Regions from separate parts of the Homo sapiens genome. Here all the other regions are linked to region 1. Evidence: promoter capture Hi-C in 16 types of primary human blood cells and fetal thymus (Javierre and others, 2016). All regions are on one chromosome and are shown on one strand. Each heading gives the region's core, a stretch centred on a gene start or on the middle of the fragment in contact. The rest is flanking DNA. Distances are from core to core; before and after follow the strand shown.

Region 1 (6,307 bases), core at 730-3,229:
GGAGTGGTCAATGACATTCTTTAGGTAATGTGGAGAGATGTCAGTAAGGAAATGTGCTGAGAAAAACCCACAAAGAATGTCATTTAGTACACCCCTGAAGACCTTGCATGGGGCAGAGTGGACGGGGCAGATGTCCCACTGGGAGGGCTTAAGTAGTGACAGGTAATTAAATGAGCTGGTAGGGCTCAGTCAGGTGGATGACGACCAAGAAGCTGTGCTGGCTCCTCTTGGTACTGTCACATACATACCAAGTTCCTCAATAAGGTGGCAGTTTTCAGGTTCTACTGGCTCCACTTCTCGAGAGGCATTCACCCTTTCTCTGTAGAAGATAAAACCCAACCCTGGAAGTCAAGGCACAGCATTCAAAATGTATGTTTAAATGTGGACTTCAATCATCTTCGTGTTGGTTAACTATCTTTATCATAATTTATGAATGACATAACAAGTAAGTAGGTACTTCCTTTCATGTTTATTTACATAATGTAGACATTATGTGGGTATTTTACCTATATCAGCTAACCTTACCCAGTTATTGCTGAAAAACTGTATAATATGATTCAACATGGAAAATTCTGCTGCCCAAATAAAAGACACTATTTAATAGTATGAGTAATTGAACAATATTATTAATTTAAATGCACGAAATAGCCCTAATTTTCTAAAGTATCGTCTGTTATAAATCTGCACTTAATCCCCTACAGTCTTGCCCTTTGAACTTTTCCTTCCAAACTGCTTTCCCAAAATTCAACAGGGTCTCCTAATAGTCAAACTCTATCACTTTTGCTTTAATTTTTAAATTTTATGCTGACTTACTCCGCAAGTATGTAAATTCATTAAACCAACCACAATTTAAACAATTGGCCGATTTATTTTTCAACACAATTTTCTTGTTTCCAGAGTGAAAAGGAATGTTTCCACATTCTTCTAATATCAGGGATAATTTAAAATTTTTATTAAAGTATATTCAGAAAGACTCAATACTTATCTTACAGTCATTTATTTAAAAAAATACCCTTAGATCTACTTTATTATTATTACTATTATTTTATGATTCTCCATGTGGTTGCACTGGGAGCAAATGTAACAATAAAACTCTCAAACTGGAAGTATTACTAATAGGCACCAGGCACCTCAACAGATTCTAGACGTGATCCTCTAAGAAGACCAGCTTCAACTAAGAGAAATACATAAACACTCAAAGACAACTGAAAGCAAGCAGAGGCTTTCGATCCACTCATGAATGTGTATTATCACTTAAAGGTTCTTCTTTCTAGCCCAGTATTGACTTTTCCTGAGACATTTCTAGGCTGGCTATCACCATTGTATCTTCCACTTCAAAAGGTCAAATGCCTACAAAATGCCAGTTACCGCCTGCAGGTTTCAGCTGGTTTGCCCTGCTGTCTGGCCAGCTCTTTAAATCTAGGATAGGTTCCATAACCCAGTACTTCTGCATGGTTAGCCAGACCTGGGCAATGTCTCAGTCAGCCGTAAACATCCAACTGGTAGCCTGATCCTCTCTCCCAAGTCCGGCGTTTCCAATGGACGTCCTTTTTTCCCAAGCAGAATGTTGAGGGCGAGCTGGGAAAGGGGTCATCACGTTCAGAAAGTAAAAGGGGGTCATGACCTTCAGAAAGCAAAGTGGGGGATCATAACCTTCAAAAAATAAATGGGACTAATTCGGCTCGGCAGTCTTTGGAAACGCAAGTAGCTCACTTTCCCCATAAGCGAGTCTCAAGGGGCGGTTTGCTGGGTGAGATGGAGGAGTGAGGTTCCAAAGCTGCTCTTTCCTACCCGCTAGGAAGGGGGCGCCAGGCAGCCCCTGACCTCACTTGGAAGAGGAGAGAAAGAGAGTCGAAGACGCCCTGTCAAGATGCCACTCACCTAAACGCCAGGAACATCTCCCCGACTAAGGACAGGCCGACCCCCAGCAGGACCAGCGCCACGAGCTTCCCCATGGTCTCGGGGTGCCCAGCGGCGACTGCGCGGCGCCGAGAGCTCTCGGGGGCGCGGCGGGCGGTTCCTGCCTCGCGTACGGATTGGGGCCCGCTCGGCCCCGCCCGCACACGCCTCCTACTTACCTGAGCGGCCCGGGTGCCGCAGCAGGGCGCTGACGAGTCCCGCCGAGCCCCGCCGCCCGGGTTCAAGGCCGCCTTCACGCCCACGATTCCTTGTTTTTTGGGCAGAGGTCAAGGCTCAACGGAGAGGGAGCCCGGGACCGAGTTGTGGTGGGAGTTTGCTCCTAACACCCGCGAAATCCTACCTCAATTCCTCAGATGGCCTGAGGGAGAAACCGGAGGGCCCGGGAATGGCGGGGAGCTCCAGTTCAGAGCCGGAACTCCGGACTTCTGCAAGGCCAGACGTGAGGCGACACTGAATTGCTCCCGAGACGCGGGAAGGGCGAAGGCAATCGAAGCGAAGAGCTTTAACTCATCTTCTCCAGGATTTGGGGCACGGGAACCTGTCTCCTGACCTTCGTGCCTTACCTCGGAGTGTGCTGCCCAGACGGACTTGTGAATAGCTGCGTCTGTCCCCATAGTTAACGGGAGAAGGAAACACCAGGAGAAAAGAAGGAAAAGACAGGAAACGGGAAGAGGAGCAGAGGCGAGGAAGGGGAAGGTCATTTCCTTGGCAGGGTAGGCCCTCTTTCTTCTAGGTCTTGAGTTCCTGCCAGGCAAGAAATGCTCTTTCCCCTCTCCTGATGAACACCAGGTTGGAGGGGGAGGAACTGAAGATGCGGGAAGACTTGGGGAGTTCGGGCAAAGTAGCACATTCAAGCATGATCTATTTTTATTTACGGACAGAAAGAAATATTAGTTCTGTTAGGTTCCACCGAGTAAACTATTTGTTGAGAGAGCAAGATTTGCCAATCCTGGGGGTATTAAGGAAAGAAAAGGTGGTCCCTGACCTATGGGATACATGATTCTAGTATGAATACGTAATTACAGGATGAATAATGAAGCCCACCGCTTATGCAGTACTGACTGTGTGCTTTGCCTGTGCTGACACCTATGTTAACGCATTTAATTATCAACACAATCTCTGGAGTGTGGGTAGCCTTACCCCAATTTTACAGGTGAGACCTGCAGCACAGATTGCTTATGTGGCTTGCTGTAGGTCAGGCAGCTGTCAAGCAGCAGACTCCAAAATCTGGGCCCTTAACTGAGCTGCCTCTACCATGCTGCCTCTAGAAAATCTATGGAAGAAGGGTTGTATTAAAAGGACAGTGTAACGTCTTGAATTGTATAGATTAGAGTTCTTGTTAAGATGACTAATGTTAAAAGAGTGCAAGCAGAGGAGGAATCGAAGTCAGGAGGGCTCACAGAGCTGAGGGGCCTGGGGTGTGATGTAGACATGCATGCAGGGTTTGGGAGTCAGGCTGCCTGGGTTTGGATCCAGCCTAGATAAAGTACTCAGCTTTATTGAGCTACAGATTCCTCTTCTGTAAAAGAACGTCCACCTCATAGGTAGCTTAAAATTAAATGTGATAATGAGTGTCAAGTGCTCTGCACTGTGCTTGATACGTTTTATGAAGTCAGTAAAGATTAACCACTAATTAATTCTGAACTTTGCTTGAGATTGTAGGCTCCTGTGGGAAGGACTCCATCGCATTGATCACTGGGTTTTCCCGTGCCATCCATAGAACTTTGTGCTTAATAATGACTCAATAAATATGATTAGATGGATGGATGTAAAATATGGACTTGGGAGAAAGAAAAATTAGAAGAATAAAAAATAAATGGAATGAATAATGAAATAATAATAGTCATATTATTATTTCACTCAGCGTTTGCATGCCTTGTCACATTACTTCTTATTAACCTTACCTACAAAGAAGTAAAGTGAATTGCTTGCTGCAAGTTTGATGGGACTAAAAAGAAGGAAAGTGAGGCTTTGAGGCTTAGAGAGGTAAAGTAATAATTCACTTAAGGTTACATAACTAAGTGTCAGTGCCTCCATCTGGACTCAGATCAGGTGACTCTAGAGCTCATGTTCCTTATCACTGTGTTTGCAGCATAGCATGAAGAAGGGGGTAAAGAAAGAAGCGTATTCTTGGGCAATTGATTGAAGTTCTGTGTTAGCTATAATTTGTTTAAAAATTCTTCACTTTAGGCAGAGGAGTCTCTGTGTGTGTGTGTGCATGTGTGTGTGTGTGTGTGTGTGTGTGTGTATACATTAACTTTAAACCCTAGAAGTGGTTAGTTTTTATTCGAATACCATAATCAGTAATTCAAATCCCCAGCATGGTAAATTAGCATTAAAGAATTCCAAACTTTGGAGGCCACTGTATCGAGTGTCACCATCTAAATCTGCTCTTGGCAATAGGCCAAATTGACTTGGTCAAGAGGCCACAGGTACATCAGTATTGTAAAAGGGGTTTGTTGACTTTGAAAGAGCAGGACAGATAAATTCAAAAGGCCTAAATTCAAGATCCAATTCCATTTGTAGTTGGCCCTTTAATCTTTTGAAATCACTTATCACCACCTCTGGACCCTTCTTTCCTTATATGTATAGTGGGGCTTTCAAAGAGCTAATGTAGACCAAATTCAATGCTATACGTTTAAACAGTAAGTAACACAATACTATATATAGATCTAGGGAGTCCCACACCATTGATAATCAAAATGCCATTAAGGGGGATGCAGAATATACATGTGGTATAATTCTAAGGTATAAAATTAGGGGAATTACATATTATCCACATATGTGTGTGTGTGTGTGTGTGTGTGTGTATATATATATATATATATAAACAATCTAGACATAAACTGAAGAGTAGTTACTTTGAGAGCAGAAGATTGGGGTCGTGGAGAGTGGGGAGGTCAGTGAGTATGGAAGGAGACTTTGCTTTTACTGTACGACCCTCTGTAATGTTTAAAATTTTCAAACTTTATATCTTGATCATGTTTACAATCGCTACATTTTTAATTTAAAAAGATTGTTTCTATCAGTGAATCTTGCCAAGAAAAAGAGGTGGCGATAGAGAAAAAGAGCAACAAATCAAAAGAGATTATGATTATATTGCAATAAAGCTGTTTTTTAAAAAGAGGATATGGATTTTAGAACATTAGGAAACATTGTCCTAAGCCATAGAAACCACTGTTTAAAACCTGGGTACGACTACATGGCATTAATGAGTCTAGTGCTGCTCAGAAGAGAGAAATGCTAGAGGACCAGATATTTGTATTATTTTAAGAAATGACTTCTATTATTTAGAAAATTTATTATTTTAAATTTATACTTATTTAAGTATTAAATATTTAGGTATATCTGAATTTAAATAAAATTCTCAATTTCATTCTGAAGATGCACTTAATAATGAAGTCAGGTAGTGAAAGTCTGATACCTTGTTTGGTGACTTCCTGCAACTCACCATGGGGAAGGTTCCCCCACTCAGGACTTCAGGTGCAACCTGTGGTGTGCTAGGAATCATCTGCGCTGAGTGTATTTAGCAGGATGAGCACCAGGGTTCCAGCAGGCTCACATTTCACTATGTAAGCACCAAGTGAATGGGGGGATCCTTGAGGGGCCACACTTTGCCAGGAAGGTTCTTTCCAGATTTATCTTCCACTTTAACTGTCTTCAGGGGATTTTTCATCAATATCTGGTAGCCCCTCAGCGACTCTAGTTTGGAACACATCTCAAGGTAGATTCAACATATTACATGAACTTGTCAGATTGTATGACAAGGAGAAGGAGTTAATTAAGTGGAGAAAGGGTGGTGAGGTTCACAGAAAGAGGTCGGGGTATCCGCAAGTAGGGGAATTGGAACAGAAATAGTCCAGTATGGATACAGCAGTGGTTCTCAAACTTCAGCAGGCCTAAGAATCACCTGGAGGGCTCCTTAAAAGAGAGATTGCTGAGTCCTAGACCCAGAGTTTGAGATTTGTTAGATTTGGGGTGGGGCTTGAGAATTTGCATCTCTAACAAGTTTGCAGGTGATGCTGATGCTGCTGGCCCAGGGACCATGCTTTGAGAATCACTGAGCTTAAAGATTTGGGAAGAAGATGGTGAGAATTGAATCTGGAGAGGAAGGCAGATTGTAGGCCAAGTTAAGAAACCTGAATTATATTCTAAGGGGCATTGGGAAGCCACTGGAAGTAACATGTTTTGGCAGGTGTTTTAGAAACATTGCTACACAATGATGAGAGTGGATTATGGAGCAGGTGGAGCACTTACCCTTCCTGGAGGCTAGGAGATAGTTAGATGCCTTTCTGGGTGAGATATGTGAGGGTGATTGGAGAAGGTGAGGAGATTGTTTCTCAAAGTTCTTAGAATTGTATGGATTTGAGAAATGTTTAGGTGGAGG
Region 2 (3,511 bases), core at 431-2,930, 970 kb before region 1:
AGTGCTACTCTGAAAGGTGCCCCTATTAGACCTTAGAGGCCAAAGTCAAAATTTGCTTCCTTTTGATATACTGATTTTACTGATTTCCTTTTTGTTTTTGTTTTTTGTTTTTGTTTTTGTTTTTTTGTTTTGGGATGGAGTTCCCCTCTGTTGCCCAGGCTGGAGTGCAGTGGCACGATCTCAGCTCACTGCGACTTCCGCCTCCCCAGTTTAAGTAATTATCTTGTCTCAGCCTCCCGAGTAGCTGGGACTACAGGCACACACCATCATGCCTAGCTAATTTTTGTATTTTTAGTAAAGACGGGGTTTCACCATATTGGTCAGGCTGGTCTCGATCTCCTGACCTCAGGTGATCCACCCACCTTGACCTCCTAAAGTGCTGGGATTACACATGTGAGCCACCCCACCCAGCCTGATTTCCTTTCCTTTGTGTATATACCCAGCAGTGTGATTGCTGGATCTTATGGTAGTTCTATTTTTAGTTTTTTGAGGAACCCCTCCTACTATGTACAACTATTATGTATCCATAACAATTTAAATTTTTTTATTTGTTTCCCTGCCTAGAGGCTATAAAAACTCTATTTCACCACCCCAAGTGTCTTTATAAATCTCAACCACATATTTTTAAATGTTGTGCCATTGGTCTCAAGGATGAATCAGATACAAAAGTATTCATGCCAAGATGTAAACTCACCGTCATCACTAGAGAAAAGATATCCAAGGATATGTCCTAGTAATAGGAGGTCATTAGCCTTTTTCTAAGCTGAAGACAGTTTATTCTCACAATCTTCAAGCCAACCTGTGTTATCACCTAGGGTCTTACCCATAATACTCAGTATTTTTTCTCTATTTAGGGACCTCCTGGCACTCCAGGTCCTCAGGGTCTTCTTGGTGCTCCTGGTATTCTGGGTCTCCCTGGCTCGAGAGGTGAACGTGGTCTACCAGGTGTTGCTGGTGCTGTGGTGAGTGCTTGACAGTATTCTGACTCCATTAACATAAGAAAAGATTTTAAAAGCTGCCACTTCAAATGTGACAGATTGATCACTGAATAACTTCACTTAAGATTTTTATTCATGGCATTTTCTTTATACAGATCACATGTCACTTATCTAAGAAGCTTTAATACCACCTTACTTAGACACACACTATAAAGACACAGCTTAAAATTATGCAGAATGATTTTTGTTCTTTCCACGCACTTAGGAATGATACAATCTCTAATTGCGTTTACTCCTCTGCAATATGAAATGCTGGCATCATTTATCCTGTAGGAAGAATGAAACTCTGGAAGTTCTGAATCGTTCCATTAAACCTTATACGTGACAACAACTAGAAACCATCTCATCTCCATAAAATATATCAACTTTTTGAATTCATTTCATTTGGGATACTGAATGACACGAGGCTCACTTTTTACAGAGCAACATCCCGTGATTACATAAAGCTGGCCATCTACATGTGGAGAAGGAGGGCAGAGATGATACTAATGATACTTCTTACCATTGTGTGACCCATTCACATTCAATTTACCTTCTTCCTTCAAACTAGAATCTCCTGAGTAGGGTTGTTTTGGAGGGGAAGGTTAGCATTCCATCGAATAAGGGGAATGTCATTTTATCTTCTCTGCCTGTTTAGGGTGAACCTGGTCCTCTTGGCATTGCCGGCCCTCCTGGGGCCCGTGGTCCTCCTGGTGCTGTGGGTAGTCCTGGAGTCAACGGTGCTCCTGGTGAAGCTGGTCGTGATGTGAGTCCAACACTTGGTTTGTAAAATAAAACTGAGCAGGATTTCATTGTGTGAAACTTTATGTCCTGAGCTGAGGTTCTCTTCTTCCAAATTTCTGAACAAGATGGTCAGCTTCTCCATAGTATCTACACCTAGTACTGAAAATATGAAAATTGCTTAGGCCAAAGAATGGGCTTTTCAATAGCACACTGCAAAACTGGGCCCAAGTATTTAAAACATCTCTAAAAAATATCTAGGTTGGCAGGTTTTTATCCCTAGTTTTAACAGTCTGAAAGAGGGTTCGTTACTGAGCACTGGAAGTGATGAAGACAGAGTAGCTACAACATAGGGGCTGGTAGGCAGCAGAGCCTCACCAACAGCCTTAATTTGTGTGGTGTCTTCACAGGGCAACCCTGGGAACGATGGTCCCCCAGGTCGCGATGGTCAACCCGGACACAAGGTCAGTACACTTTTCATCTTTCTCTAATTCAAAAGTGATTAAAATGCAACCCAGATTGATGCTAAGCTTCATTTTGCCTTTGGTAGGGAGAGCGCGGTTACCCTGGCAATATTGGTCCCGTTGGTGCTGCAGGTGCACCTGGTCCTCATGGCCCCGTGGGTCCTGCTGGCAAACATGGAAACCGTGGTGAAACTGTAAGTTTGTGAATACCAGTCCCTCAGTGCAGCATTCTCGTGGGCTTCACTTCTGACTTCCCCACACTTGGGGATGGTGGAGGAGTGGGGAGGGGTATCTTGGGCCTAGCTAAGTTGTGTTTTTCTTTTTCATTTCACAGGGTCCTTCTGGTCCTGTTGGTCCTGCTGGTGCTGTTGGCCCAAGAGGTCCTAGTGTATGTACATGCTGAAGATTTCTTTGCAACACTAACATTTAGAGAGAATCAGTCCAAAACATCTGTTAAGAAAATAAACAATATATCAGCTAGACTTAATATTTTTTAAAAATTTCAGTCCATGCTGAGAATTGATACAAATAACTTGAGCTATTTTAAATCTCTTATGCTTGTTTGTATTAAACAATTACAAGGATCTAGCCACTTTACAGATAGCACAACTAAAGCAGATTACCAGCAGAGGTGAGAGCCTAGCTAAACCATTACATGTCCTGAGTTACCTTTGTAAACGAATTAAGCAGTATTTGTGGTGAAGTGAGTGCCATTTTTTTAAAACGGTAAGTCTTATCCATCCTTCTGTTTCTTTATAGGGCCCACAAGGCATTCGTGGCGATAAGGGAGAGCCCGGTGAAAAGGGGCCCAGAGGTCTTCCTGGCTTAAAGGGACACAATGGATTGCAAGGTCTGCCTGGTATCGCTGTAAGTAAACTGTAGCCATCTCGCACATAAACTGATCCTGAAGGCCTTCAGCTCAGAAGGATTTTCATATTTTCACTGCTATTGTTCCAGTATAGCCTATATAATATCCATTTCCCATTCTCTGGCTAACTCCATCTCACTCTTGGAGGTAATGCTATTTCATACCAACATGAAAGGTGAGGATTAAGGGAGATAGAAATAGACATACAATAAAATCTCCTGGTAACAATGTCCTTCAACCCCACTTAAAATAAACATAATTAGAGGAATGACTAATATTGCACTGCTGAAATAGGTTGTGAAAAAAAAATTGAATATAATAGACATAATGGGAGAAAAGAGCCCCACTTTACATTTTCAATTTTCTCAATCCGGAGTCCATTTAACTAAAGTTTCCCATTCAATTTGGAAAAAAAAAAAAAATATGTCTCTTGACATGTGCTCTGAAAGTGTGATTTTCCT
Region 3 (6,126 bases), core at 1,184-3,683, 930 kb before region 1:
TCCTGTGTTGAGTGAATCTATATTTTAAGCCCAGAGAAGGAAGCAGACTCTTGTCTTTCCCACTTTCACGGATCATCATTTCACCTGTTCTATCAACCTAAATTCCATCCTCATCTGAATGTATATATGGTATGAATTATAGTCATTTTCAAAAAAGTAAAAACTTGACTCTCATACAAATATATGATTAACACATGTCAAAGATGTTATTTAACTCTTTAATTGATCGAGAGACCTATTGCAATGGGTTCAAAAGAGACCTCATAGAAGACAAATTTATGAATCTGAAATATTGAAATGAATTTGCAAAACTGAGTTTTCCACAGGAGAAAAGGTGTTTCCCCTCATAGATAGAATTTATTTGCATGTCTATAGGCAAGAATTATTTGCATTGCTACCTGTTTCAAGTTAACTTTACCGTATACAGAGTAGTAAAATAGCTTAGCTAAAGACAAAATCGCATATCCCTACATGTTCAATAACCCCCAAAGGCTCTAGCATTGCATTGAATTTATATACAGTAATCTCATTTGTGCATTCCAAAGTCTTAAATTTTCCCTTACAAACAACATTTTTATATAATCTTTACATTTTCATAGCTACTTCTGCAATTCTATAAGTCAAGCCGAAGCTTCTTTCTTAAAGGAAATGTTCATTTTTCATGCAGATTATAATAAAATGTTAAGCCTCTTGATAATTGTCAAAGTATCAATGATAGTGAATAGGCAAAAATTATTTCCTGTTCTGATATGTAATAGCTATACTTACAGTTTGCAAAACCTTAGACAAGGGTAAGAAAGAGAAAAATAATTAGTCAATTTTTACTTTTGTTGTGACAGGGTCTCACTCTGTCACCCAGGATTGAGTATAGCGGTGTGATCTCAGCTCACTGCAACCTCTGCCTCCCTGGCTCAAGTGATCCTCCCACCTCATCCTCCTGAATAGCTGGAATCACAGGCACACACTGGCTAATTTTTTGTATTTCTGGTAGACATGAGGTTTCACCTTGTTGTCCAGGCTGGTCTCAAACTCCTGAGCTAGAGCAATCCACCTGTCTCGGCCTCCCAAAATCCTGGGACTACAGATGTGAGCCACTGTGCCCAGCCAATCATTACTTTTAAAATAATGTTTAGCAGAAGCAGCATCTTGATAGTCATCAACAGCAATATCAATAAATATTTTATGTGCTATAATATTTTTGGTTAGAAGTAAGATTAATAAAATAATTCAATTCTCAATAAAGGTCTTATTTAGATAAAATGTAGCAAGTAATTTAACTGTATTAGAGACCTTTTAAAAAGAACTGGGCCACTCAAATTGTCATTCCTTAATTTTTTTTTACATTCTAAGATAAAAATATAATAAACTAAATGCCAATAGTAGCTGATATATTAACAATGGAGCACAATATTAGTACAATAAAATTTTTTCTTTAATACATTACACATCACATATGTTGAGGTCCTTTCTATGCTGCACAAAGAAATCTAGCCTGCATTTACAATTTTAAATTATTATATTCTTGTGTAAATTTTATAGTTGATTTATAACTTGGGATTTATTTGATGTCAAGCCTTCTGGTCACAAATGAAACTCTAAATTGAAGCACCATAGAAGCATCTGATTAAAAAAATTACTCACTGCTTTGACGGAATTATATTACAGAAGTATATTGCAGCAAAAAGTAGGGATTTTCTTGTATGTTTTTCCAAATAATTGGGAAAACTCTGCTTGCAGCTATTTCAGAAATGCTCATATCAGAGCAGTTCTTGCCCAAGTTAACTATAAAATGCATGAAACAATAGTTTGACAACATTCAAGAGCACTTCCAGCAGACAGGACTTGAGAAGCAGCAGTCCGGGAGAGAAGGAAAACACACTGAAGTGAGATTCTGCCCTGTATTTCCCTTCAAGACATCTGCAAATTTGCATCTGAGAGAAACAGAGATTAAAAAGAAAGACAAACCTGGCTTACGACACTCTCACTGGGCTGAAGAAACAGAGTTTGGGGGTGAGGGCATGTAATAGAGTTAAAATTTGGGGAAGAAAACACATAAAAGTAAGCGTGAAATTCTGCATGCAATTTCCTTGCAAGGGGTGGCCATCCCCAAAACTGCATATACACAAAGCAAGACTCCTAAACATCTAGCAGAAAGTACCAGTATGCCAAAGAGCTAAGCAAAGATTTTAGCAGTATGGTAGTACCAAGGGCATATAGATTATAATTCAGGGCTCACAAAAGTAGAGGGGACCCAGGAAACACCCCCATGATTTCACATGAGACCATAAAAAGGTTATACCTTAGAAGTAAAAAATAAGGAATAAAGGCAAATTAAAACTAGACCAGTTCCATCACAGTATAGAATCCACTCTTGGAATCCACTCTTGACTAGATAAAAGTGACCTGTTATATCTCTATCTACTTGCCAAAATGAAATTAAATTATCTTTGGGGAAAGATATCGTCATCTAAGGCCTGTATAATTTTTCATACAGAATCTCTAGTATTCCATCAAATATTGTTAGGCAAGATAAGAAATTGGAACATATAACAAAAAACTAGGAAAGATTTGACAATGAAATGGAAGTAAAGATGACCCAAATAGTGGAGCTATCATTAGAGACCTCAAAATAACATTATGGCCAGGTGTTGCGGCTCATGCCTGTAATCCCAGTGCTTTGGGAGACTGAGGCAAAAGGATTGCTTGAGCCCAGGAGTTTGAGACTGGCCTGGGCAACATAGTGAGACTTTGTTTCTACAAACAATAATAAACTAATAATAATGTTTAATATGTTCATGAAAATTGAGAAAAGAATGGAGAATTCATAAGAAACAAGGAATCTACTAAATAAAATAAAGTGGAAATTGTAGAAGTTGAAAAGATAACTGAAATAAGAATCTAATACTTGGATTTAAAAGCAGATAAGGCAAATAATAAAAACATACATCTACATAAAGACATGTACGCAAATGTTAATAACAGCATTATTCAAAATAGCCCAAAACTGGTAGTAATCCAAATGCCCATCAGCTGATGAATGGATGAACACATGAGGTATAGGCACACAATAAAATACTATTCAGCAACGAAAAAGAGTAGACTGCTCATGTATTCAACAACATAGATGAACCTCAAAAAAATGTTAAGTGAAAGAAGACCGACACAAATGGCTATATAGTGTACCATTCTATTAACAGAAAATTTCTAGAAAAGGTAAACTTATACACACAGAAGTAGATCCACAGTTGCCTAGGGCTATGGGTGGGAGTGGAAATTAACAACAAATGGGCACAAATAAATTTTAGGGGGTGATGGAAATGTTCTAAAACAGAATTGAGGTAATTTTACACAAATACACAAATTTACCAAAATTTATCACATTGTACACTTATATTTGGTTAATTTATGCTATGTAAAATTATAAATTATATCTCAATATACGTTTTTTTAACTTTAGCTGACTCCTAAATGATGCACTTGCCAGACAAAATCGAGATAAAGATTCTTAACAATTAACTGTGATTTTAGCTGCCACACAAGAGACAGCGTTTGATGCTTGAGTCCACCCGAGTTTAATATCTGAAAAAAAAATCAGAACTTTTGGAAGACTATAAAAGAATGCACAATATAACCCTGACAGTGCCCAGGGTATAGAAATTACTGAATATATTTTTAAAACAGGAAGTATTACTTTTCTCGACAGAAAAGATAGAATATTGTTATACTAATGTTGGTAAATATATACACCAACCCTGGATGATACAGAAGTTGGAATTAGTAGGCAAAGATTTTAAAGTAGCTGTTATAACTATGGTCAGTGAAATAAGGAAAAATATGTTAGCAATAAATAAAATAATAGGAAATCTCAGTAAAGATAAATAAAATATGAAATATTTTGAAATATTTATTAAAATAAGCTAACGAATTCTAAAACTAAAAAATAAAATGTCTGAAATTGTAAAAAGAATCATTATATAGGTTTAGCAGCAAAATAGAGATGACAGAGCAACTAGTCAGTGAACTTGATAATACAATAGAAATAGTCCAATCTGAAGAATAGACAAAAAAATTAAAAAGATTGGAAGAAAATGAGCAGAGTCTCAGAGAACTCTAAGACAATATCAAAAGACATAACATATGTATAATTGGAATCACAGAATGACAGGAAAGAATGTGGCAAAAAAAATTTGAAAAATTAGCCAAATTTTTCCAAAATTGGGTAAAAGGCATAAATATAAAGCTTGAAAAAGCTCGGTGACCCTCAAACATGATAAATGAAGAAGCTATGTGTAAATACATCGTAGTCTTAACTGCTGAAAACCAGAGAAAAAGAGAACTCTTGAAAGAAGCCAGAAAAAGAATAACATAATTACATAAGGTTCAAATCATCCCAGATTTTGCATCTGACACTGTGTAGGCCATAATTCCATAAACAAATATCTTCAAAGTTCTGGAAAAAAAGTGTCAACTCAGAATTTCATATGCAGCAAATATATCCTATTGGACTGAAAGTGAAATACTATAATACAATTTTCAAATAAAAGAAAACTAGGAAAATGTGTCTTCTAGCAAATCTGCTGAAATCCTAAATAAAATTCTTCAAACTGAAGAGAAATTATACCAGCTGAAAACTCAGATCATCAGGAAGGAATGAAGATGCTTGGAAATATAATATCTGGGTAAATATAAAAAACTACTACTTAATCTCTTTAAAATATATCTAGGTATTTAGGTCAAAAACTATAAAACTTATTGAGGATTTATAGTGTATGTGGATGTAATCATACATGATAATTGTGCTATATATAATGCACAATACATCATGATATATGATCATATCATTATATCACATAAAGGATAGGTGGGGGAATATTAAGCCTATATGATAGTAAAGTTTCCACATTTTGTGTAGGCTAAATGTCCCTATTTACTCTAAATTAGGTACCCTATTAACTCTAAATTAAGAGTAAAAAGTTATACACATTAACCCCCAGAGCAACCACTTTACCTGGGATTATAATCTCCTAAAAAGCAAGACCTTTGCTTTATTCACTTTTCATTCTGAATCACTAACCACAGAGTAGCAAGTCTAGTGAAACTGAATAGAAATAATGAAACAATATTTGTTTAGGTGTTTTGAATCAACTTTTTAAAACTGGAATTGCTCACAATCGAAGCATAATTCTATTCATAGCACAATGTTTAGCATATAGAAAAGACATGATAAATGCAATCATAATAAGTAGTAGTGTTCTTAATGATGTCTTTGGAACACAATAATGTCATGAGTCATTCTTTCTGAATCTTCAAAGGATAATCAATTTATATTTAAATATAATCAACTTATGTATAAGAGCATGTGTTTCGAGTGCCCAAACTTGGGCTTGAGTTTCAGTGATTACCTACATGACTTCTCAATTTATTTACATGTAAAGTGAGATGATGATTTTAAAAGCTTACTTTACAGACCTGTTTAGAAAATTAAATGAAATTTCATGTAAGTTGTTTAACATAGCACTTGGTACAAAGGAAGTGTTCAATTAATATTGGCTGCACTTATTGAAGGAAGCTTTAGGATTGATGATACTCAATACAAACTCTTTAAAAATGTGTAATCCATAGCTAATCATATATAAATCAACTCTGTACTAGTCAGAATATCTGATTAATCAGAATTTTCATTCCCAAACTTTGGGAGATCACTGTGTCATTTAACTCCACCATGTATGAAAGCCTCCACATTTTCAAACCATTAACAAATAAAAAACAAGAATGGTGCTACTATCGTATCAGATGAAATAACAGCAACATGGGTCAACAATTTCTTAGAAAACCCCATGGGACCTGATGTCCTTTGGAATTCAGAATGTCTTGGATCTAAGTAAGTTGTGAATTATCTCATGTAACAACCCCAAGGGGTATGGCAGTAGCTCTTAATGAAACGCATTAATACTTCTACCATCCTACATATGAATATTCATGCAAAGTGGGATAAGTGAAGTTTATAAGTTGTCACAGATCAGTTCCGGTCAGATCTTACCACTGAATGAGTTTGCTACAAGATGAACCAATTGTTTTCAGCTTTTCAATTTCAGAATTGCACATAAGGGATTGCAGACTTAAGAA
Region 4 (6,356 bases), core at 1,063-3,562, 950 kb before region 1:
ACTCTTTGAACTGGTTCACATGACTATGTGCAAATCCAACCCTCTGAACAGGTGTCATGGAAAGGTGTCTGCAAAAAACACCAAAAGGTTATTTTTCTAAAATCCCGTTTTATTGCCTTCTCTTCCAGTGAAGGCAACCCCCAGCTGGTTATTGGGAAGTCACATCCCCCTTCTTCCTATATCTTAGCATGGGAGTGATAAAATTGCCTGAAAGAAAGACACTACAATAGCATTAAGTCCATGTGCAAATATAATGACTGACCCTCATATCATATCTCAAGCGCAACAGTTGTCATAGCTTTATTTATAACAAAACATTGGAAATTAACCAAATGTCTAATAATAGTGGATTGGTTTAAGTAGATATGGTGCATCCATTTGATGGATTGCAATCCAGTATTTTAAATGTTCTCAAAATATACTTATAGAAGAAAATTAATAGCTATTTGCTAAAATAAACAAGTATAGATTACAGGGGAGTTGCATCCCATGCAGGAAGTTAGGTTTTAAAACCAGCACATAATGGAGAAAAAGTTTTGCATAATCAACATTACCCTTGAAAATCTCTAGGTTGAAGACCAAATACCATAACTTCCACACAGTTTTTCTTTTAGTATTAGAATACATGGCTGTTTCTGTGATTGTGCATGAAAGTTGTTGGCCTGAGTATAGACCATGTTATAAGAAAAATATGTATTTTTGCCATCAGAATCATAGTCACTGTAGCAAGTTGCACACACCATGTGAGACACACAGAAACTGGAATTGACTAAGAAAAAAGAAATTCCTATCCCCCATCTCATGCTTATTCCAAAGCATATATTCATGAGCTAAATGAAGAGAAATTTTAAAAATTTAATTAAATTATTGTCTGTCTCACACACAGAGAGAGTAAAATTCATCTAAGTTAATGTGTGCAGTGATTATCCATGTAAATCATTACATACAAGTTCAAGTTTGCTTAAAAATTTTTATTTTTTACAGATATGCATAAAAATTCAGAAAGGATGTATGTAAAAATATTAATAACCATTATCTCTAGTGAGGTGATGCATATTGCCAGGGTTTTTTCTTTAATCTGTCTGCATTTTTCAAAAAAACATAAACATATATTACTTTCATTATCAGAAGAAACTAGGATTATTTTTAACTAGCATTCACAAAACATAGATGGTATATTTAAAACTAAGCTTTATTGTATTATGAATGCAGGCTACATGTAGAACAATATATAGTTTTGATGTACAATTTCTGATTCAAATGAACAAGCACTTTGTTAAATTACTGCTAAACATTACGGAAACATGAGAACACATTATGACGCAGTATGTTTCAATCAACAAAATTTTATTCGTCTCCCTTGGTAAAGCAGTGTTATTAGGGACTATTGAACAGAACACGGAGACAGCCTCCTTATATTGAACTGGTTGTTAAAATACACCTGTCAAGGAAAAAAAGGTTCTGTCTAGATATGGATTATATAAATATACATAAAAAAATCTTTAGAAAATTGCCCTAGGAGGTCCTTTCTGAGTGTTTAGACATTCCTAATCTTTCGTGCTTCCGTGATATATTGTTAAAATATCTATTACAGCAATATTTTCTCTGCTTCATTCTCAAAAGATGCAGAGATGCATTCAGGTAATGAGGGAAATTTGTTACTGAAACACATATATCACTCTAGTAAGCCTGTTTTAATGATTGAAAAAAATATATGTCTCACATAGAAGGATTTTAAAGACAGGTTAGTTGAAATGGTTCTTTGATTATGTAAAATCACTGGTGGTTGATTCATTGTGTCAGATTTGAAATGAGATTAAATTGTAAGAGTAAGTTTTAAATTCTCTGCATTAAACTGAATTAATAAATTGAGCAAAGACATGATTCAAATAGGATTGAAAGGTTCTGCTAAAACCAGACTGTTTAGGTCCATTAGCAACCAGCTAAGAAAGAATATCTTATCAGAAAACAGCGTAGGCTGTGGAAAATTAATAGTGCTAGACCCAGTCTTGGTGTAGAATTACATGGAAGGGATTAGGAAGTGAGGGGAAGGTAATTAAGTAGAAAGAACAGCCGGAAAGAACTGAAAAGCCAAAGATCAGATGGTCCTCAAGTTGAGCCCCTCACCATCTGTTGGCAATCATCAAAATTTATTTGATCTTATTGTATATTTACTCTGTGAAAGGAAAAGAATAAAACCTCATTCTAATGAATGAATAGGTGAGATCAAGGAGAATACCCATTATAACAGAGCTCATTATTATAGCAAGTAAAATCATTCCCATTGCAACATAACAAATACAATTAATATAATCTAATTGTTACATCTTTGTCCATGTCCCTAATATGAGCTTCATAAAAAGATTCTCATGTTTTCCTGGCCCTTTGTGATTTAGTTGGAGCACTTTGTTTATAATTTTGCTGTCATTGTTTATTGTATGTTTGTCTATACAATTGCTCTTATAAAATTGCTGAGTGACTGCATGCATGCATCAGGAAAAGTAGGTCAATCAGCCACTTAATGTTTCCTCTTCTAATCTGCATTAGCACCTGTGATTTCAGTATCAGCTAAAGGGGTTACTACTATTTACCCAGTTATACAAAACAGAAAATACAATTCTTTCCTCTCCTTTACCTCTGGTTCTCACATCCAATCAACTACCATATCCTCCTAAATGTTTTTCTATAGCTTTACTTCTTTAGCCTTTGTTTTTGGGGCTTCCTCCCTTCTTTTTCGGCAGTACTGCAACTTTTCACTTCAGCCTTTCACCTTAACTAGTTACTACCTGCCTCTTTTCTCGTTCCCCTCAAATCCATCTTCCATTACACAGAGAAAACACAACTCTGACCTTTCAACTCCCTGTTAAAAGATTCCTGTTTCCACAGCACTTGCAGGATAAAGTCCAAAGGCATTTGTGTAGTATGGGAAACCCTTAACCACAGTGTCCCCTGACTATTTCAGCTCTCTAACTCTTTTCTCCCATCTCACAGTTTATGCCCTCCAGCAAAACCAGAGAGTAATTTATAAAGCAACTACCAATAAATAATTAAGCAATTTTTATTATAATCAACTCATGACATGCCTCAGGGATGAGTATTTCTATTCATTCTTAGGTCTGTGCTATGCATTAGTATTTAAAAATTAGCTGCTGGGGTTTTAGACTGTGAGCCTTGCAAGGAAGGCAGACCAAACTATACAGCCAGCTATCACATGGGAGCATCTGTGCAAGACGTCTCTGCACAGCTCAGCAAGACAAGCAGATACATCATCATATCTCTGAATACATATTAGTATTGCCCACCAGTCAAGCAGTATGCAGCTTCACAGGAGAGCTGTGTATTTTCCTTTATTAAAAAATGATTGAGACTGTCATTCTTTGCCTAGTGCCATCTTTCACATACCTAGCAGCACACTTTTAACATGCCGGATATTTGAAAGCTTTATCAGAAAAGGCTGGCTGCCTCATATCAAGTGTTTAATTTAGTTCTGAAGTCTCTTGAGAAAAATGAATTGATGTCAGATTTTTAATTTTAAAGTTACATTTGCATTGCAGATGGACTATTTAACAGTTCACGTAATCAATAAATTTAATACTTCAGCACAGGACATGTTAACGAGAGACGGTAGGATCTAAATTAGTGGTTTCTTTTGAAAATTCACATCATGCTTGCTTGCTTGCTTACTTAAATCTGTTAATCATAAGAAATCACCGTCTTGTAATGAAAAAATAAATAGCTGAATGTTTCCACAAAGTAGTCAGCTTCTTGGACATGATATTCATTTCTTTTTAGGGACTAACATATCTTGATAAGTAGTAATATTCTACCCCACTCACCCCTCCCTACCAACCTTGCAAAGAATGTGCAGATCCAAACTTTTAAAACCTGTTTAAAATGCTATTTCATAACTGTGCCAAATGCTAGCGAACAAATATTTTTAAATGTATTGGGTATTGTATTAAAAGTAATTAATGGCAAAAACCGCAATTACTTTTGAACCAACCGTACAAATGGGCACTGAGCTAGTAAAAAGTGAATATTTTGTGTTTTAAAATTATTCATGTTTCTTTTTATAAACAATAAACTTGTTTTATTGAACAGCATTATACATTTTTATCAGCTTTATTGAGATATAATTGGCATAAACTGCACATATTTAATGTATACAATTTGATGTGTATGATATATATGTGTAGGCTTTATGATTTCTAGTTAAAAAGTTAGAAATGAATGAAGAAGAAAACTATCCACTATATTCACAGTACTATAATCACAATTAAAACTTTAGAACATGCCCTTCCAAGTTTTTAAAATCTATTCATATACACATACGAATAAAATAGACATGTGCTTCCATTTCTACCAAATTGTGAACAAGCTGCATATATTAGGTTGTGTTTTTTTGTGTTTTTAACTAAAGTTTTCATAAATGTTTTTTCGTATTACTAAGTATCTTTCTAAAGATAATTTTTAATGTATACATATATCACATACATTTTTATCTGTAGTGAAATAATCACAAAATGAATGATGAAGAAAATAATCACCTATAGCCACCTATAACCACTACTTAAACCATAAAAACATAACCATATAAGTAACCATGCATATAATCACTATTAAAATTCTAAAATATGTTTTAATACACATATGAATTTTAAATATATGTAATTATATATACACACACTTTCATTTTTACTAAAATATTAATCAAACTATATGTATTATTTTATACCCCGATTTTAAAGAAAATTTAATAAGCAGTTTGTATACTTGCAATTTTTTTTACAAAAAGTTTAAAAAATACAGAAATGAATGAAGCCAATTATCACCAATAACTCAAGTAATACAGATAATCACTATTTAAACTTTGGAATATATACTTCTGGACAGATATAGAAAAAACCATTTTATTATTAAATTCTATTTTTAATTTAAATTTTATATGAGCATTTTTCCATGTTATTATATATCTTCTTAAGAAATAATTTTAAGCAGCAGAATAGTTTTATAACATGAAGTACTTTTGATAACATTGGATATAATAAAATCTTTTAAATCTTGGCCAATTTTATAGCAAAACTTTTCATTTTTAAAAAACATACAATCTTTTGATTAGTATTGAAGTTAAATGTGTTTTTCAAATGCTCATAGACCATTTTAAATGATGTCTTATTTATTTTGTCCATTCTGTATGCTATAAATAATTTTTCCATTTTATCATTTCCTTTTATGGCAATTTTCATGCACATATGTTTTCCTTTATATTTTTTCTTCATAATTTTTTTCTTTGCCTTTTTGCTTAAGCTAAATATTCACTTATATGATTTTTTTTTTTTTTGTAGAGATGGAGTCTTGCTCTGTCACCCAGACTGGAGTTCAGTGGTGCGATCTCTGCTCACTGCAACCTCCACCTCTCCTGTTCAAGCAATTCTCCTGCCTCAGCCTCCTGAGTAGCTGGGACTACAAGCGCACACTGCCATGCCTGGCTAATTTCTTTTGTATTTTAGTAGAGACAGGGCTTCACCATGTTGCCCAGGCTGGTCTCAAACTCCTGAACTCAGGCAATCTGCCCGCCTCAGCCTCCCAAAGTGCTAGGATTACAGGTGTGAGCCACCATGCCCAGCCTCACTTATATGTTTTAAAGTTTATTTAATTTTGAATTTGAATTTTTAACATCTGGGATTTATTTGTTATATAATGTAAGGTGACCAAGCATCCTTGTACACGGATTTGAAATTACATCTTTATCACATAATAAATTCTTATGTATGCATTTGAATTTAAAATTTGTGCTAGTGAAGTGATGAAAGCTGCAGTTCAATCTCTAAGCTTTTGTTCCTTTTGTATCTGTTTAGTTAAATGTGGCATTGATTTAGGGTGATACTTTTTCTTTTTTAACACTCCATAAAGCACCAAAGATACATTTAAATTTATATACATACATGTAACTATTTTTCTTCTTTAGGTTTATATTTTCTTTTAAAGCAATACAAGCTTTTTGTAGGAAAAATGTAAGTAAAATTGTAAGGAAGCAGAAAAATTATTTTGATCTCTTTTAATCAACAATAACCACTGATAACACTTTGGCATATTTAGTTTTACAACTTTTTTCACTTTTTCTTCTTTGTGGAGGATACAAGAGATGTAAATAAAGGTCTTTAAATGTTTTCATAATGATGATTGTTTTATGCTTCCAGTAGAACATTAACTTGATTTGTAATAATGAAATTTTTAATCCTCCTAATGGGATTTGAAACATATTTCTTAAAGAACCTAAATGTACAAACTCATATTCTGAAAACAAAAAAACAAATGTTTTTTAAAATTACTCATTAAAATGGAAATTCTCTATT

The links. Contacts are between HindIII fragments. The CHiCAGO score rates a contact against its expected background, and 5 or more counts as called.
Region 2: a contact is called between a fragment that was not itself captured here and the fragment with the promoter of PON3 in region 1, in 1 of 17 cell types (total CD4 T cells). The highest score is 5.3, in total CD4 T cells.
Region 3: a contact is called between a fragment that was not itself captured here and the fragment with the promoter of PON3 in region 1, in 1 of 17 cell types (megakaryocytes). The highest score is 5.4, in megakaryocytes.
Region 4: a contact is called between a fragment that was not itself captured here and the fragment with the promoter of PON3 in region 1, in 4 of 17 cell types (total CD8 T cells, total B cells, M1 macrophages and 1 more). The highest score is 5.9, in total CD8 T cells.

Annotation. Positions count from the first base shown.
Region 1 is chr7:95,394,396-95,400,702 of GRCh38, forward strand. PON3 (paraoxonase 3) reads right to left here and starts at 1,980. Exons shown (of 9, transcript NM_000940.3): 1 at 1,882-1,980; 2 at 249-319. The coding sequence starts at 1,955. LOC107986822 (a long non-coding RNA gene) reads left to right here and starts at 2,077. Exons shown (of 2, transcript XR_007060439.1): 1 at 2,077-2,633. The HindIII fragment of the contact is 14,130 bases long and covers 1-6,307 here.
Region 2 is chr7:94,423,482-94,426,992 of GRCh38, forward strand. COL1A2 (collagen type I alpha 2 chain) reads left to right here. Exons shown (of 52, transcript NM_000089.4): 41 at 855-962; 42 at 1,636-1,743; 43 at 2,129-2,182; 44 at 2,269-2,376; 45 at 2,517-2,570; 46 at 2,942-3,049. Among named protein-coding and RNA genes, the nearest start is that of COL1A2, 30 kb to the left of the region's middle. The HindIII fragment of the contact is 1,131 bases long and covers 1,116-2,246 here.
Region 3 is chr7:94,467,680-94,473,805 of GRCh38, forward strand. No RefSeq gene overlaps it. Among named protein-coding and RNA genes, the nearest start is that of CASD1, 39 kb to the right of the region's middle. The HindIII fragment of the contact is 3,609 bases long and covers 630-4,238 here.
Region 4 is chr7:94,442,953-94,449,308 of GRCh38, forward strand. No RefSeq gene overlaps it. Among named protein-coding and RNA genes, the nearest start is that of COL1A2, 51 kb to the left of the region's middle. The HindIII fragment of the contact is 2,249 bases long and covers 1,189-3,437 here.